4 separate regions of the Homo sapiens genome follow, and all the other regions are linked to region 3. The links are contacts of gene promoters, found by promoter capture Hi-C in blood cells and fetal thymus (Javierre and others, 2016). All regions are on one chromosome and are shown on one strand. Each heading gives the region's core, a stretch centred on a gene start or on the middle of the fragment in contact. The rest is flanking DNA. Distances are from core to core; before and after follow the strand shown. Region 1 overlaps PLCL1 (phospholipase C like 1 (inactive)). Region 2 overlaps PLCL1 (phospholipase C like 1 (inactive)). Region 3 holds the start of MARS2 (methionyl-tRNA synthetase 2, mitochondrial). Region 4 overlaps PLCL1 (phospholipase C like 1 (inactive)).

The links. The method cuts DNA at HindIII sites, captures the fragments that hold promoters and counts their contacts. A CHiCAGO score of 5 or more calls a contact.
Region 1: a contact is called between a fragment that was not itself captured here and the fragment with the promoter of MARS2 in region 3, in 1 of 17 cell types (neutrophils). The highest score is 8.7, in neutrophils.
Region 2: a contact is called between a fragment that was not itself captured here and the fragment with the promoter of MARS2 in region 3, in 1 of 17 cell types (neutrophils). The highest score is 5.4, in neutrophils.
Region 4: a fragment that was not itself captured here is called in contact with the fragment with the promoter of MARS2 in region 3 in 3 of 17 cell types (monocytes, neutrophils and naive CD4 T cells); the score reaches 6.5 in monocytes.

The regions. Positions count from the first base shown.
Region 1 is chr2:198,136,549-198,140,307 of GRCh38, forward strand. The region is part of intron 5 of PLCL1 (phospholipase C like 1 (inactive)); the gene reads left to right. Among named protein-coding and RNA genes, the nearest start is that of LINC01923, 240 kb to the right of the region's middle. The HindIII fragment of the contact is 4,592 bases long and covers 1-3,759 here.
Region 2 is chr2:198,061,204-198,065,146 of GRCh38, forward strand. All of the region lies in intron 1 of PLCL1 (phospholipase C like 1 (inactive)), which reads left to right. Among named protein-coding and RNA genes, the nearest start is that of PLCL1, 260 kb to the left of the region's middle. The HindIII fragment of the contact is 2,555 bases long and covers 1,151-3,705 here.
Region 3 is chr2:197,703,435-197,706,928 of GRCh38, forward strand. MARS2 (methionyl-tRNA synthetase 2, mitochondrial) reads left to right here and starts at 1,935. Exons shown (of 1, transcript NM_138395.4): 1 at 1,935-3,494. The coding sequence starts at 1,972. RefSeq lists a silencer at 1,749-1,988 and enhancers at 2,129-2,178, 2,219-2,338. The HindIII fragment of the contact is 9,491 bases long and covers 1-3,494 here.
Region 4 is chr2:198,117,408-198,121,422 of GRCh38, forward strand. All of the region lies in intron 5 of PLCL1 (phospholipase C like 1 (inactive)), which reads left to right. Among named protein-coding and RNA genes, the nearest start is that of LINC01923, 260 kb to the right of the region's middle. The HindIII fragment of the contact is 2,213 bases long and covers 381-2,593 here.

The sequences.
Region 1 (3,759 bases), core at 442-2,941, 430 kb after region 3:
TTAGAATCAGATTTATTCCTTCATCACTCCTGGGGTTCCACTCGTCAGCTAGTGTGTTCTGCCATCTTGGGCAGCCAGCTTATGTGGAAGGCTTGTGGGGGCTCATGGGTGCTGCAAGGAGAAATCAGTACAGGGGCCCTGAGAATTGACTGATGAGGCCTCACATTAGTAGCATCCTTCAAAACGTTCAGTGGATGCCTGTCATGAATATGATTCATTAATAATCTTCTTTTTGGATCTGAGCCATCAGGGCTTATGACGATACCTTTGAAGTGAAAACCAGTCCTTTTTTCCAGCACTTATCCCACTCATGAATCCTCTATCATTGCTTTTGTATTTCAGTTTTCCGAAAATCTGGCTCAGATTAAAATTATTAAATGCTTCCAAACCCTGTACCCACACTGAAGACAAAAGTTAGAAATCAAAATATCAGCACAAGGATAGTATTTATGTCTGGGACATTTGTGAAGTTCTATCAAGAAATTCTTTTATAAACCAAAGAAGTCTTAAGCTAGTTTTTCTTTTCTATTTGATCAAATAGATCTATTTGATGACATGTGCACCATATCATGTAATGTACCTAAATTAAATAAAAAAACACAAAAAAACAAATAAACAATATAGAGATTAAGAAAAACAACTCTTGGCCTGGGAAGCCGGCATTATTCATTTCCTTCACACTTATTTCTCGTGTGAACCTGGGCAATGTATTTTTTTAGCTTTCCTGTGTCCATTTATTCACCTGAAGGTTATAAAAGGAGTCCTTCGAATGGCTCGAAAATTTGAAATAATTACTAAGAACGGTTATTTAGCAGATCTCAGTGATACTGTCACTAAATGACACTTTATTGTTTTCCACTTTCAGTGTTTCTTTCAGTATAAATGTCAATGAAACAAAATAAATCCTAAATAGAGAAAACGTAAGGAAAAATGGAATGTATTAGGCAATTTGGTGCTGTGCCATAAAGGCGGTAACCTTCCAGAACACTCTCCCATACCATGTATATCTGTATCTGTAAGACTGGAGGAGGATTCTTGCCTCTCCTCCAGGCAAGCATAAAAAAATCCTTGTACTGTGTTTCACTGATCATAAGATGCCAAGAAATAAATGAAGATGCCTGCTCATCTTGCAAATCATTGCTTTCTTGTTACTTTTTATGGGGAGGCTTGTCTAATCTCCTAGTCCTCACAGCAATACATTCTTTTCCCTCAAGTACTTAGCATAATTTAAGGTTAGATATAACTTTATTTTTGTGGTTATTTTATATATACCTGTATCCCACACTAGAAATAGGTTCCGTAGGGGCAGGGATGATGTCTGTGCTCACTTTTGTAACCCCCAGAGTCCAGCCTGGTGATTCTCAATGGGTGCAGTACTGCCCCCTAGGCTGTGTTCTGGGAAGTTGTAGAGGTGATTGGGAGGATTCTCCTGGCATTTAGTGGAAACAGACAGGAATATTTGATGTCATGCTCTGGGCAGGGCAGTACAACATGATGAAAAATGTCCTGTGTCCTGCAAGATTTCTGTTAAGTCCTGCCTGAGTAAACCCTCTGTATTAGTCAGTTGTCATACTGCTATAAAGAACTACGTGAAACTGGGTAATTTATAAAGAAAAGAGGTTTTTTTGTTTTGTTTTGTTTTGTTTTCTCAGTCCTTCACGCTGTACAGGAGGCATGGCTGGGGAGGCCTCAGTGAACTTACAGTCATGGCATAAGGCAAAAGGGAAGCAAGCACATCTTCACATGGTGGCAGGAAAGAGAAACAGCTAAGGGGAAGTGTTACACACTTTCAAACAACCAGATCTCCTGAGAACTTACTATCACAAGAACAACAAGGAGGAAATCTGCCCCTTTGATCCATTCACCTCCCACCAAATCCCCTCCTGCAACACCAGGGTTTACAATTCAACATGAGATTTGGGTGGGGACACAGAGCCAAACCATATCACCCTCTAAAATACAAATCAGAATACTTTAGTATATGATATTAATTAATTATTATTATTTTTTACAAGAAGTTGTTTGAAGGCCAGTACTTGAGTAAAAGGTAGTTATTGAGAGGTAAGTCTAAATGAAATAAAGACATTGTTTCCAAATTATTGAATAATTTACTCACCTTGGGTATTTTGTCCACTTGACCATATAATTGCTACACAGTAATATTGGAACAAATTGGGCAGTCAGATAATGGTTTTAACCTGATACCTTATTTTTTATTATTGATAATCCATGGTGGGCATCCGCCTGGGCCCCACAAAGTATCAGCTGGTATTATCAATCACAAGAACAATGACCTTTGGAGTACTTTTAAAGATTTGGCAGTTTTGCTGGGCGTGGTGGCTCACACCTGTAATCCCAGAACTTTGGGAGGCCAAGGCAGGTGGATCACCTGAGGTCAGGAGTTTGAGACCAGCCTGACTAACATGGAGAAACTCCATCTCTACTAAAAATACAAAATCAACTGGGTCTGGTGGCCTGTACCTGTAATCCCAGCTACTCAGGAGGCTGAGGCAGGAGAATCGCTTGAACCCAGGATGTGGAGGTTGCTGTGAGCCAAGATCGCACCATTGCACTCCAGCCTGGGCAACAAGAGCAAAACTCCGTCTCAAAATAAAAAAAAAAAGATTTGGCAGTTTTGATGTGGTGTATGGACATTATTTACTTCCTCATTTATGGGATTATCAGCTTTTTCTTTCCACAGTGAGGGTTTGTATTTGTCTTGGCATGTTATGCCGACCTTAATTGAGGTTGTTTCTTTCCTTCTTTTATTCTATGCAAATACAACTAGTCTATTGCCATTATTTGTTTTCATACTAGTGTCTGTCTCTACATTTGCATTATCATTTTCCATTAAATATGTATTTTTTGAGTGGAATGGCATCTGATCTTATTTCTCTTTCATATCTAATTGCATTCATATTAAGTACAGGCATCTGCCTACTTCAGGTTTCTGGTGTGCCTGCCTGACATTCACATATGGCAATACATGTTATTTTATTTTAAATGACCATTCCCTTTTTCTCCTTTATATTACAGCTAGGGTATTATATTTATTTTAATAATACATGAATAGGTTATATTATCTATGAATTTAAGTTTATGAAAATAAAGAAAGCCTTACAAAGTATTTGTTTCAAAGGGTTGGTTTTGATAGATTGAGAACCTCAGGCCAAAGTCTGGTATACAGTAATTGTTTAATAAATATTTGTTTGCTGGATAAGTGAATAAAATGAAAACTAAGGTGCAAGTCCTCATTAATAGCTAAGAGACCACCATTGTTTCCAAAGCACAGGGAAGAGATGGGTGTATCTCAGTTCACATATACATAGCTTTGAACAAGGTATAACAGGGACAATAAATGAGAATTTGAAACATTAAATTTCATACTTTTTTTTTTTTCCCCGAGATGGAGTCATGCTCTGTCACCCAGGCTGGAGGGCAGTGGTGCGATCTTGGCTCAATGCAGCCTCCACCTCCTGGGTTCAAGCAATTTTCCTGCCTCAGCCTCCTGAGTAGCTGGGATTACAGGTGCCTAACAACACACCCAGCTAATTTTTGTTCTTTTAGTAGAGACGGAGTTTCACCATGTTGGCCGCGCCTGGCCCATACTTCTTTTTTAAGCTCTGGTCAACAAGTGCATCTCAATGCAGTGGGTTTTATTGAGTGATACAGATGTTTTCCACCAGTAACAGGACCTATTGTCAGCATTGTTGCCACTGGATTATTAATGGTTTTTTAAATTATATTATTATTAGTGAG
Region 2 (3,943 bases), core at 1,178-3,677, 360 kb after region 3:
GATCATGGTGGGAGTAGGGGTGTGTTATAAAGATGTGAACATTTTATCTAAAACGTGCACTCTGTTAATTAGTAACTTTCAATACATTTATATCTTACCGATACAATTTCTATTGTTTCTTGAACACTAGGAAATGCTTGAGGTGTGAATATTGTTTTCCAGTGTGATTTGTACTACCTACACATTATAAAGGGATGTTAACCGTTCGAATCCTCTTTAACGGCCCCCAGCAGTGAAGGAGGGTGGGCAGGGAGAGGAACAGCTGTTGCCTAAGAGGGGAAGGAAGGGAGGGAAGGGGAACTAGAGAAGCTGGCTTCATTGGTATATGATCTGGGATAATGGGAAGCACTGATTTAGGAATTATCAAATCATTCCTCCATTGCAAATGTATCGTCATTATTATTATTATTATTTTGAGACAAGTCTCGCTCTGTCGCCCAGGCTGGAGTGCAATGGCACCATCTCGGTTTACTGCAACTTCCACCTCCCGGGTTCAAGCAATTCTTCTGCCTCAGCCTCCTGAGTAGCTGGGATTACAGGCATGTGCCACCACACCTGGCTAATTTTTTGTATGTTTAGTAGAGATGGGGTTTCACCGTGTCAGCCAGGATGGTCTCGAACTCCTGACCTCATGATCTGCCTGCCTCAGCCTCCCAAAGTGCTGGGATTACAGGTGTGAGCCACTGAGCCTGGCTGCAAATGTATTATAAGGGTCAATAGGTACGTTGATTCTTACTTTTTCCTCCATACACATTACACAATACTGAGAAGAAATGTATTCCATCCTGTCTAGCACGGCAGTGGTTGGACTTTAATAAATGACGGCTCCCTTCCTCTTCATCTGAGTACATTGAACTGCTACAATTCATTAGTCAGAAATTTGAATTGTTTAGGACATGGTAAGATTCTGGAGCCTAATTCCAGGAAATAAAGTGAAATTCAAAGGAAGCCCCAGACTGCTCCAAATCTGCCCTTCAAATTATTTGTCTCATTTACACGTTATTTTTTTGAAATGGCAAAGATTATCCTTTCTGATAAATTTTGTGCATTAAAAGACAAGTTTTATCTATTCTAGGGGAGCTCCAAATTTATACAAGACAATTGTGATAAATTTTTTCTTAAAGGAAGAAATCCTTTATTATGCAAATAAAGCTTCTTTATTAACTTCTGTATATTTGAATGGAGGTTGGACTTTTCTCAGTTACCTACAATTTATACGTAACTCAATTATATATACTTCTCTAGAACTGCTTATGTAAAATAATATTTCTTAACACATTTAAAGTGGTGACTCCCTATTATATTGCAATACCCTTCCTCTTTTTTTCTGAACTAACAATGGAATTAAAATTCAAGTGCTGAAAAAACACGGTTTCAGTATCCTTATATTCTTAACATGGAGCCATCATATAATTAAATGCAATGTCTAGTTTTTTTCATAAGTGTATGAAGTTGAATATTCTGATTTGGTGCAGTGTTTTCAAATTTTCCTGACCATAAGAATCACTTGGGGGTGAGCCTAGGGTATCATTTGTTAAAAAAAATAAATTCCTGGCCTCCCCCCTTTAACCTACTGAATCAGATGTGTAGAACCTGGGAATATACTAAGTCAATGAGCTATCTCAGGTGATTCTTATAATCAGGTAAGTTTGGGACCAATGATGTAATGCAGTAAAACTTAAGGGTGTATCAGAATCACCCTTGTCTTATTAAAACCCAAAATTTCTGAACCCCACCCCCAGATCCAGTGGGTGTAGAGTCTGAAAGTCTGCAATTTTTAACAAGGTCCTTGGTGATGCTGTTGCTGGCAGTCCAAAGATCACACTGTGGGGACCACTGATGTAGTGGAAAGAATGTAGTCTTGAGATGAGACACATCTGGGTTCCAGTCTCATTTAATAGCTGGAAATTTTTTAGTATAGTTACTTAATACTATACTAAGTACTTAATACTATACTTTACTGAGTTTTTTCCTCTTTATTTTCAATTTTTTAAAATATCCTTAAATAAATTTATACACTCATACATATATATTATGCTTGGGTTTAAATGCTACCTTGAATAAATATGGAGCACAGATGGAAACCGAGAAGAAGGAGGCAGAAATGAGAGCAAGGAGGAGGCTGATAAGTAGGTTCAAGGGAGAGTGAGTGGTCTGCACAGTAATAACTGTGTCCTAGAATAACCAGAACCCAGCAAAACAACATAATCAGAAGCAAACTCAAAGTGAATGTATTAAAAGTCAAGCTAACTGTTTACTTTGCAAGGAGAAGAGAAAGGTCACTTGGCTGTACAAGTATGATAGCATTGATTAATTTGAATGCTTTGTCTGAATCATTACTGTTGAGATTCTGAAAGTTCAGATACTGAAAAGAGGAAAATAATGTTGACATGGAGAAACCAATCATGTGAGAGCTGTTTTTCATGTCAGTGAGGATAAAATGATTGCTACCTGCTCTTTTTACACACATGACTAATGACATATTTGTAAACTTAGTTTTCTAAGAAAGAAACATAGCCATCATATTTAGGGTTCATACCATTATTTAAATTTGTATACTGTGTTCCATCAGCTTTTCATGGGAAGTATTTTTATCCTCTCTGATGATTTGAAATAGAAAAGCCAATTTGGGTGTAAAATCCAATGTTCAGGCAGAAGCCTTATGTGGAGATAGTGTTCCCACAGAATTGAACTCCTGGAGTACTGGTTAAGAGCAAGTACTCCAGGAGTCAGATATCTGGGTTCCAATCTTGCTTTCACCTCTTAGGGCCCGTTCTGTTGCCATAGGAATGTTCAATAAGCTAGTAATCATTATAGTACATAGCTATGGGATTTCTACAAACTTTTATTCAACAAGTATTTATTGACTGCTTGAGAGGTGCCAGGCATGGTGGCAGGTACTGGGGATATCCACTCTCAGGGAGCTCTGGGAGACAGGCAAGAAACCTGTGAATAAGAAAGTTCATATAATAATAGTAGGTGTTAAGGATGGAGCAATTAACAAAACTAAAACATAAGTCCCTAGTCCTCCAAGTTCCATTATAGTGCCTTATATCCTAGTTTGTTTACCTTCCATAAGCTCATCAAAAGTCAAATGTGACTTAGATTTACTGACTAGGTTACTATTTTATTCATCAGATTGAGCTCCTTAATTCGGGAATTTAACAGAGGTTAGTTTGCAACTTAAAAAAATCTTCATTTCTATCCTGTCTTAGGCATTAATAGATTTTGTCCATATTACCAGTGCAAATAACAGTGAACTTTATGTTTTTATTCTCTATTTGATATGCTTGTAATTTAAGGCTTAGCCACAATTAAAATGTTCACTTTATAATCTATTAGAAATTCTATATAATTTAATAATTTTCATTTTGTTGAGGTCAAATTTAACTACAAAATCTAGGAAGCTATTGATTCCCACTAACCGCACCATTGTTATAGTCTTAGTATGTTTGAAAATTTAAGTAAAATTTGTTTCCAGGGCCAAAAGGAGAGTACTATTTTAGTTTTGTGGAACTTTGCCAAAATTGTATTAATTATTAACTGTGATTCATTTATGACTGTACTTCTTCTATAGGATTTTAACTAATTTAAAGCAAAGACTGAATGAAAGTCTTTATGTTTTGCAGACAAGAGAGCACCCATTTATCCTCAGCAAATGAATTGTTGGAGCAAATAATTTCAGTGGACCGTTTGGTATAGGGAAGCTTATGGAGACAGAAGCTTGTGGAGACAGAAAATTCAAGGGATTAGGATTTTTGAAATACAGAATAAGACTGAGGGGCAGCTAAGATTTATGTAGTCTTCAAGAACATAGACTATGCAAATACACAAACCTACATTCTGTAGACTGCATTGTAGGGAATAATGGACACACTCAACATCCTCTAAGATTAGGATAGAGAGAAAAGCTCCACTCTATTTGAAGGAAGGGAAATTTTTA
Region 3 (3,494 bases), core at 685-3,184:
CTGTTGATAGTTTATTTTGTGGTGCGGAAACTCTTTAATTAGGTCCCATTTGTCAATTTTTGTTTTTGTTGCAATTGCTTTTGGCATCCTCATGATGAAATCTTTGTCAGGTCCTATGTCCAGAATGGTATTTCCCAGGTTACCTTCTAAGGTTTTTAGTTTTAGGTTTTACATTTAAGTCTTTAATCCATTTTGAGTTGAGTTTTGTATATGGTATAGGAAGGGGGTCCTGTTTCATCTGTATATGGCTAGCTAGTTATCCAAGCACCATTTATTGAATAGGGAGTCTTTTGCCCATTGCTTGTTTTTATCAACTTTGTTGAAGACCAGATGGTTGTAGGTCATTCTTAAACTGCTGGATTAAATAAGAGCACATCAACTGAGTATCCAAAGTTATTTTTTATATCTCTTATACAGAATTCGATTGGTCCACCTTTCATCATATCACTAGAGAAATCAGATCCAAGTTACCATATGTGTTCAGTCAAAGGTTATTATACAGCAGTCAAAATGAATGAATTACATGCAACATGTATTAAGAACATATGAATGCAGTTACATGCAACAACATGGATTAATATAGCAACAAAATGTTGAATAAAAAGGCAAGTTGAAGACTACATGTAGTATTATATCCTTTTTAGAATATTTAAATGCAAGCAAAATTAAACAATGTTACTTAGACATACTTTGTATGTGATCACACAAATGTGCAAGAACAAAATTCAGGACAATGACTACCTCAGGGAGGACAGTACGAGAAGAAAAGGAGCACACAGATCTAAATCACTGGTAATTTTCTAGTTCAGTGTTTCTCAAACTTTAATGTGCATCAGAATCACCTTAAAATCTAAATTACTGGGCCCTACCCTCAGAGTTTTCTGGTTCAGTATGTGGGGGATGGGGCCTAAGAATATACATATCGAACGAAGTTCCAGGTGCTGCCAGTTCTGCTGCTCTGGGGACCACACTCTGAAACCACTTGTAGTTCTTAGATTGGGTTGTAGGTTCATAGCTGCTCCATTTTATTATTAAATGTATATGCTACTTAAATTAAATTAAAAAAAAAAGATCAAAGATGAGAGTGTGTTATGAACTAGGGATTAACATTAATTCAATTCTGGGCTCCTGAGGTTTCCTCCCCTAAAAAAAATTCTAAGGTTCCATTACTAAAAGCAAACTTGAGAAACACTATTTTAAAAGAACTTCAAGACCATTAAAAAAATTAACTTTTTGAGAAATAAATTTGAAAATTATTCTTTATATGCACAGTGACAGCATATTGCACTCTACTTTCCTGGATCTCAATAAACTTTGGCAAGAACTTGGCAGATCACAAATCTACTTTTGTTGATTCAACAAAAACTGTTTAAAGACTTCTCTTCCATTCTCAGTTCTTATCCTTCTCTCAAAATGCTGTAGGTAATGATTTTTCATCTTTTTTCTCTCTCCCTCCCTTACAGATTGATTTAGGCTCTGAGATAAAATTTAGGTGACATTTTAGATATCGACAGGGCATGTGCAGAGCAATACTCTGTCTTGCAGTATGCCAGCCACGGACGGGGTTTAGACAAACGGCTGAATATAAAACTCTTGCCTACAAGCAGCTCAGCCTAGAGGGGGAAACAGATTCATAAATATAAAATTACAATCCAAAGCAGGAAACACAGTATGTTATACGAAGGCAAAGAGGTTCGTCTTCTTTCATAGCCTCTCCTAAACCCGGCAACTCTGAGCTGTTTTTCTGGCAAGCCGCCGTCCATTGGCGGCCTCTGGCGCCGCGGCTTTCGGCGTGCGGACGGCGCAGGCGCGGGCGGGGCGGGGCCGGGCGGGGAGGGCGGTGAGGGCCGGCGCTCGGGGCCGCGTTTCATTGGCTTTCCGGCCGGAAGCTGCGGCGCGACCCGGCTGCGCATGCGCCTCTCACACGTGCTGTCAGAACGCCGCCTCCTCCGCTTGCGGCCGGTCTGCACCATGCTGCGAACGTCCGTCCTCCGCCTGCTAGGACGCACGGGGGCTAGTAGGCTGTCTCTCCTGGAGGACTTCGGCCCACGCTACTACAGTTCGGGCTCCCTCAGTGCCGGCGATGATGCTTGTGATGTGCGCGCCTACTTCACTACACCCATTTTCTACGTGAACGCGGCGCCGCACATCGGGCACCTGTACTCGGCACTACTGGCGGACGCCCTATGCCGCCACCGTCGCCTCCGAGGTCCCAGCACGGCCGCCACGCGATTCTCCACTGGTACCGACGAGCACGGGCTGAAGATTCAGCAGGCAGCAGCTACCGCGGGCCTGGCCCCGACCGAGCTGTGCGACCGAGTCTCTGAGCAGTTCCAGCAGCTTTTCCAGGAGGCCGGTATCTCCTGCACAGATTTCATCCGCACCACGGAGGCCCGGCACCGGGTGGCTGTGCAGCACTTCTGGGGGGTGCTTAAGTCCCGCGGTCTGCTCTACAAGGGCGTCTATGAAGGTTGGTATTGCGCTTCCGACGAGTGCTTCCTGCCTGAGGCCAAGGTCACCCAGCAGCCGGGCCCATCGGGGGATTCGTTTCCTGTATCTCTCGAGAGCGGGCATCCAGTCTCCTGGACCAAGGAAGAAAACTACATTTTCAGGCTTTCCCAGTTCCGGAAGCCACTCCAGCGGTGGCTGCGGGGCAACCCTCAGGCGATCACCCCCGAACCATTTCATCACGTAGTTCTTCAGTGGCTGGACGAGGAGCTGCCCGACCTGTCCGTGTCTCGCAGAAGTAGCCACTTGCACTGGGGCATTCCGGTGCCCGGGGATGATTCGCAGACCATCTATGTATGGCTGGATGCCCTGGTCAACTACCTCACTGTAATTGGCTACCCAAATGCTGAGTTCAAATCTTGGTGGCCGGCCACCTCTCATATCATAGGTAAGGACATTCTCAAATTCCATGCCATCTATTGGCCTGCCTTCCTGTTAGGGGCCGGCATGAGCCCGCCACAGCGCATCTGTGTCCATTCCCACTGGACAGTCTGTGGCCAAAAGATGTCCAAGAGCTTGGGCAACGTGGTGGATCCTAGGACTTGCCTTAACCGCTATACCGTGGATGGCTTCCGCTACTTTCTCCTTCGGCAGGGCGTCCCCAACTGGGACTGTGACTACTATGATGAAAAGGTGGTTAAGTTGCTGAACTCCGAGCTGGCAGATGCCTTGGGAGGTCTCTTGAACCGATGCACTGCCAAAAGAATAAATCCTTCTGAGACCTACCCAGCCTTCTGCACTACCTGCTTCCCTAGTGAGCCAGGGTTGGTGGGGCCGTCAGTTCGTGCTCAGGCAGAGGATTATGCTCTGGTGAGCGCAGTGGCCACTTTGCCAAAGCAGGTAGCAGACCACTATGATAACTTTCGGATATATAAGGCTCTGGAGGCCGTGTCCAGCTGTGTCCGGCAAACTAATGGTTTTGTCCAAAGGCATGCACCATGGAAGCTGAACTGGGAGAGCCCAGTGGATGCTCCCTGGCTGGGTAC
Region 4 (4,015 bases), core at 237-2,736, 410 kb after region 3:
ATGTGTTAGAATTACTCATGTTCTCTGGTGGTACATTATTGTAACAGAAGTTTATTCCTCCAAACTGCTTGGATGGGCACAATTTGAACATATGCTGAAACAGTCCTATAGACACTTGAGAGTTCCATACAGTTTATTTGCTGGTGAAATCATGGATGGTTACACACCGCTTCCTCATTCCCTTACCTTCCAGATGGCTCTCCACACTTACCACACATGTTGCAGGAAACAGGTTCTTGTTTATCGTGGGTTTGCTATCAACCAAGAAACTGATATCTAAGACTGCTAAAAAACAAAGCTAGCGTATAAAGTCTTGTATAGGAAAAGTATGTTTTAGAGGTAACTATGTCCTAGTATTAAATCTGAGTAGGTGAGACTGAAGCTTCTTAACAATGTATATTGTGTATCCTCTGAGTCAGCCCATAGAGTCTTTACATGTACTCTGAAACTAGAGAGGGAAAAAGCCAGCAACTTCCTTCCTGTTCTCCTTTATCAATAGTACATTTTAGCCTGGGAGAGGAAGAATACCATCAAAAGGAACAATTATATGTATGCATAGTGTGTGCTTGTATATGTGTTATATCATAGGCTCGTTTCTTATATTAAACAACTCACTTATTAAACCCTGCTTATTGTAAGCTCTGTAATAATACATGTAGATATGATAATAACAATAATAGAGGAATGAAATTTTCCTTGGAGGCTTTGGTTAACTAAATGTATTCTCAGCTGTTCTTATGAAAAACATAAAAATGTGTAAGCAATATAATAATTACAAATGCCATCAAGATGGAAATTACAATTTTAAATTCTGAAAAATATAGTCTTTGCTACTGAATCACAGTTTTATCAACCATACTAAATCATTCGGTCATCCTCTACTTAATAACCACCACCTTAAAAATTGCTGGGTTCATCTCAGGAAGCATAATTTTGTTCTAGAGATTCTTCTCTGGTCAGAAAGAGAGAGAGGGAGAGGAGAGAGAGAAAGGAGCAAATAATAAAGTGACTACTACTGTCCTTCCTCTTTAAATAACAGCTCCTGGGAAGGTCAGATCCTTTGGCTGTTTTGTCAAAGATACTCAGGAAAAGTTTTCATAGAGATCTCTGAACTACAGGAGACTTGAAAATTAATTACATGAAACTTTATGAATTTTCATTGAAGTTAAACATCAGCACAACCAGTATTATTTTCCTGGAGCTTTTGATTAGACATTTCTATACCAGTTTGTCTGTCATTTCTTTTTTGCAGCATAAGGTTTAACAGTCTAATCCCTGAATTGGCCAGAGCTGCTGCATACTCCTATGTCAATTGTGCACTGCACAACCGTAGGGGGTGCCATTCCCACTGAATGCATGTGAGTAGTGTCCTCTGGATTTGTCATGTAGTTACCATGAAGTTGTCAGTCTAAGCATTTTTCTGTCTCTAACCTTTTGTTCTCCATGAAGTTTTGAGTGCCTTTAACTATTATTACATTAATTATAATTATTGTCTAATGTAGTGATTTTCCCTACTAAGGTTTACATTTAGGATAAATCTTCAGTCATTTCAAAAGGATTCATATACAGTAGTGTGTCTTCATGTGAAACTATTGTTATTTGTGTATTGAAGCACAGTAGAGAAGCCCAAGAATCCAGAGTATTACATACATCAGATGAGGAAAATGTCAATTGTAACTCAGCTAGATCTTAACTTTGATTGGTTTTGACAACCAAACATAGTTGATTCAGTTTGTAACTTGACAACAGAAACTGTAGGCATTTGGAAAATAATATCAAGTCCTCTTTTCAAATCTAATACATCCTTCTTGTGTAAGAAAATTTAATTAAATTCATTTAATCTTCTGAAAAAAATGCTCTAAATTCATTTAAGAGAGTTAAAAATAAATAAATCTTTTAAAAAGCCTAAGACTTGAGTGAGAGAAATGATTTGATGTTAGTCTGTTAGCTTCAAGAAAAAATGCCAAGTTCTTGACCTGGATAGAAGGTCCTCTGTGATGGGGGCTTTGCTTACCTCCGTGTCTTCACATTTTATATTCTCCAGGCCCTCAGTTCTGTTTCTTGGAAATATCAGGCAGTTTTGGGATTCCATGCCTTCGCACTGCTGTTCCTGCCAACTGTGATGTTCTTTCCCTCCTCAGTCACCCACCAGCTCCTCTTCATCACTCACATCCAGCACTAGTGTTATCCATTGCCTTTCCAGGGAAGCCTTCCCTGCTCTTGTCCCTCCATACCCCTCACCCTCCAATTCTCATCAAAACCAAATTATCTCCTGTATAGTGCCAGATCTGTAGCTTATACACAATTTTATTCCCATGCTCACCACCCTGACTCACTAAATGTTAATGATGTGTCCCTATGTCTTTTTCTCATACAAAATCCTGCTCCTTCAGGGTGGGGACTGTGTTTTAGTACAGTGCTGAGATTTAGGAGAAAGCAGAGGATTACAGAAGCTCTGCAAGTTGTTCAAGATGATGCGACTAACTAGTAAGCCGTGGGGATGGATGCACACCTTGATCTATGTGACACCAAAACCTGTCCTTAATATCCACAGTCATGATGTCCAAGGTCACTGTAGATGCCTGTGTACCAAAGCTTGTTCTTCATATTGGGCGTTGTGTCCAACGTCACCATTGGATGCCTATGTGTCATTTGGGAAGATGGGCGTTTCTGCAGTTCTTGGCAGCTCCGTTTTCTCATGGGGTTGAAATTTTGTCCTGTTTTTCTTACTTCAACCTCTGGGGAGTTTCATTTTTCCTGGTCTACTCTTAAAAAAAATAATTTTTGTGGGTACATAGGTGTATATATTTGTGGGGTACATAAGATGTTTTGGTACAGACATGCAATGCATAATAATCACATCATGGAAAATTGGTTATCCATCCCCTCAAGGATCTATCCTTTGTGTTTTAAATAAACCAATTATACTCTTTTAGTTATTTTTAAATATACAATTAAATTATTATTGACTATAGTCACTCTGTTGTGCTATCAAATGCTTGGTCTTATTCATTCTAACTTCTTTTTGTACCCATTAACCATCCTCATCTCCCCTCATTCCCCACTACCCTTCCCAGCCTCTAGTAACCATCCTTCTACTCTCTATGTCCATGAGTTCAATTATTTTAATTTTTAGCTCCCACAAATAACTTAGAACATGTAAAGTTTGTTTTTCTGTGCCTGGCTTATTTAAGTTAACACAATGACCTCCAGTTCCATCCATGTTGTTGCAAATGACAGGATCTCAATCTTTTTTATGGCTGAATAGTACTCCATATGTACTATCACATTTTCTTTATCCATTCATCTGCTGATGGACACTTAGGTTGCTTCCAAATCTTGGCTATTATGAATAGTGCTGCAATAAACCTGAGAGTGCAGGTAACTCTTTGATATACTGATTTCCTTTCTTTTGAATATATACCCAGAAGTGGGATTGCTGGATTGTATGGTAGCTCTATTTTCAGTTTTTTGAGGAAGCTCCAAATTGTTCTCCATAGTGGCTGTACTAATTTACATTCCTGCCAACAGTGTATGAGGGTTCCCTTTTCTCCATATCTTCGCCAGCATTTTTTATTGCCTGTCTTTTGGATATAAGTCATTTTAACTGGGGTGAGATGATATCTCATTGTAGTTTTGTTTTGCATTTCTCTGATGATCAGTGTTGTTGAATACCTTTCCATATGCCTGTTTGCCATTTGTCTTCTTTTGAGAAATGTCTTTTCAGATCTTTTGCCCAGTTTTTAATCAGATTATTAGAGTTTTTCCTACAGAATTGTTTGAGCTCCTTATGTATTCCGATTATTAATCCCTTGTCAGATAGGTAGTTTGCAAATATTTTCTTCCATTCTATAGTTTGTCTCTTCACTTTTGGGTTGTTGCCTTTGCTGTGCAGAAACTTTTTAACTTGATGTGATTTCAGTTGTCCAGTTTTGCTTTGGTTTCTTGTGCTTGTGGGGTATTACTTAAGACACATTTCCCCAGACAAATGTTCTGGAGAGTTTCCCCAATGTTT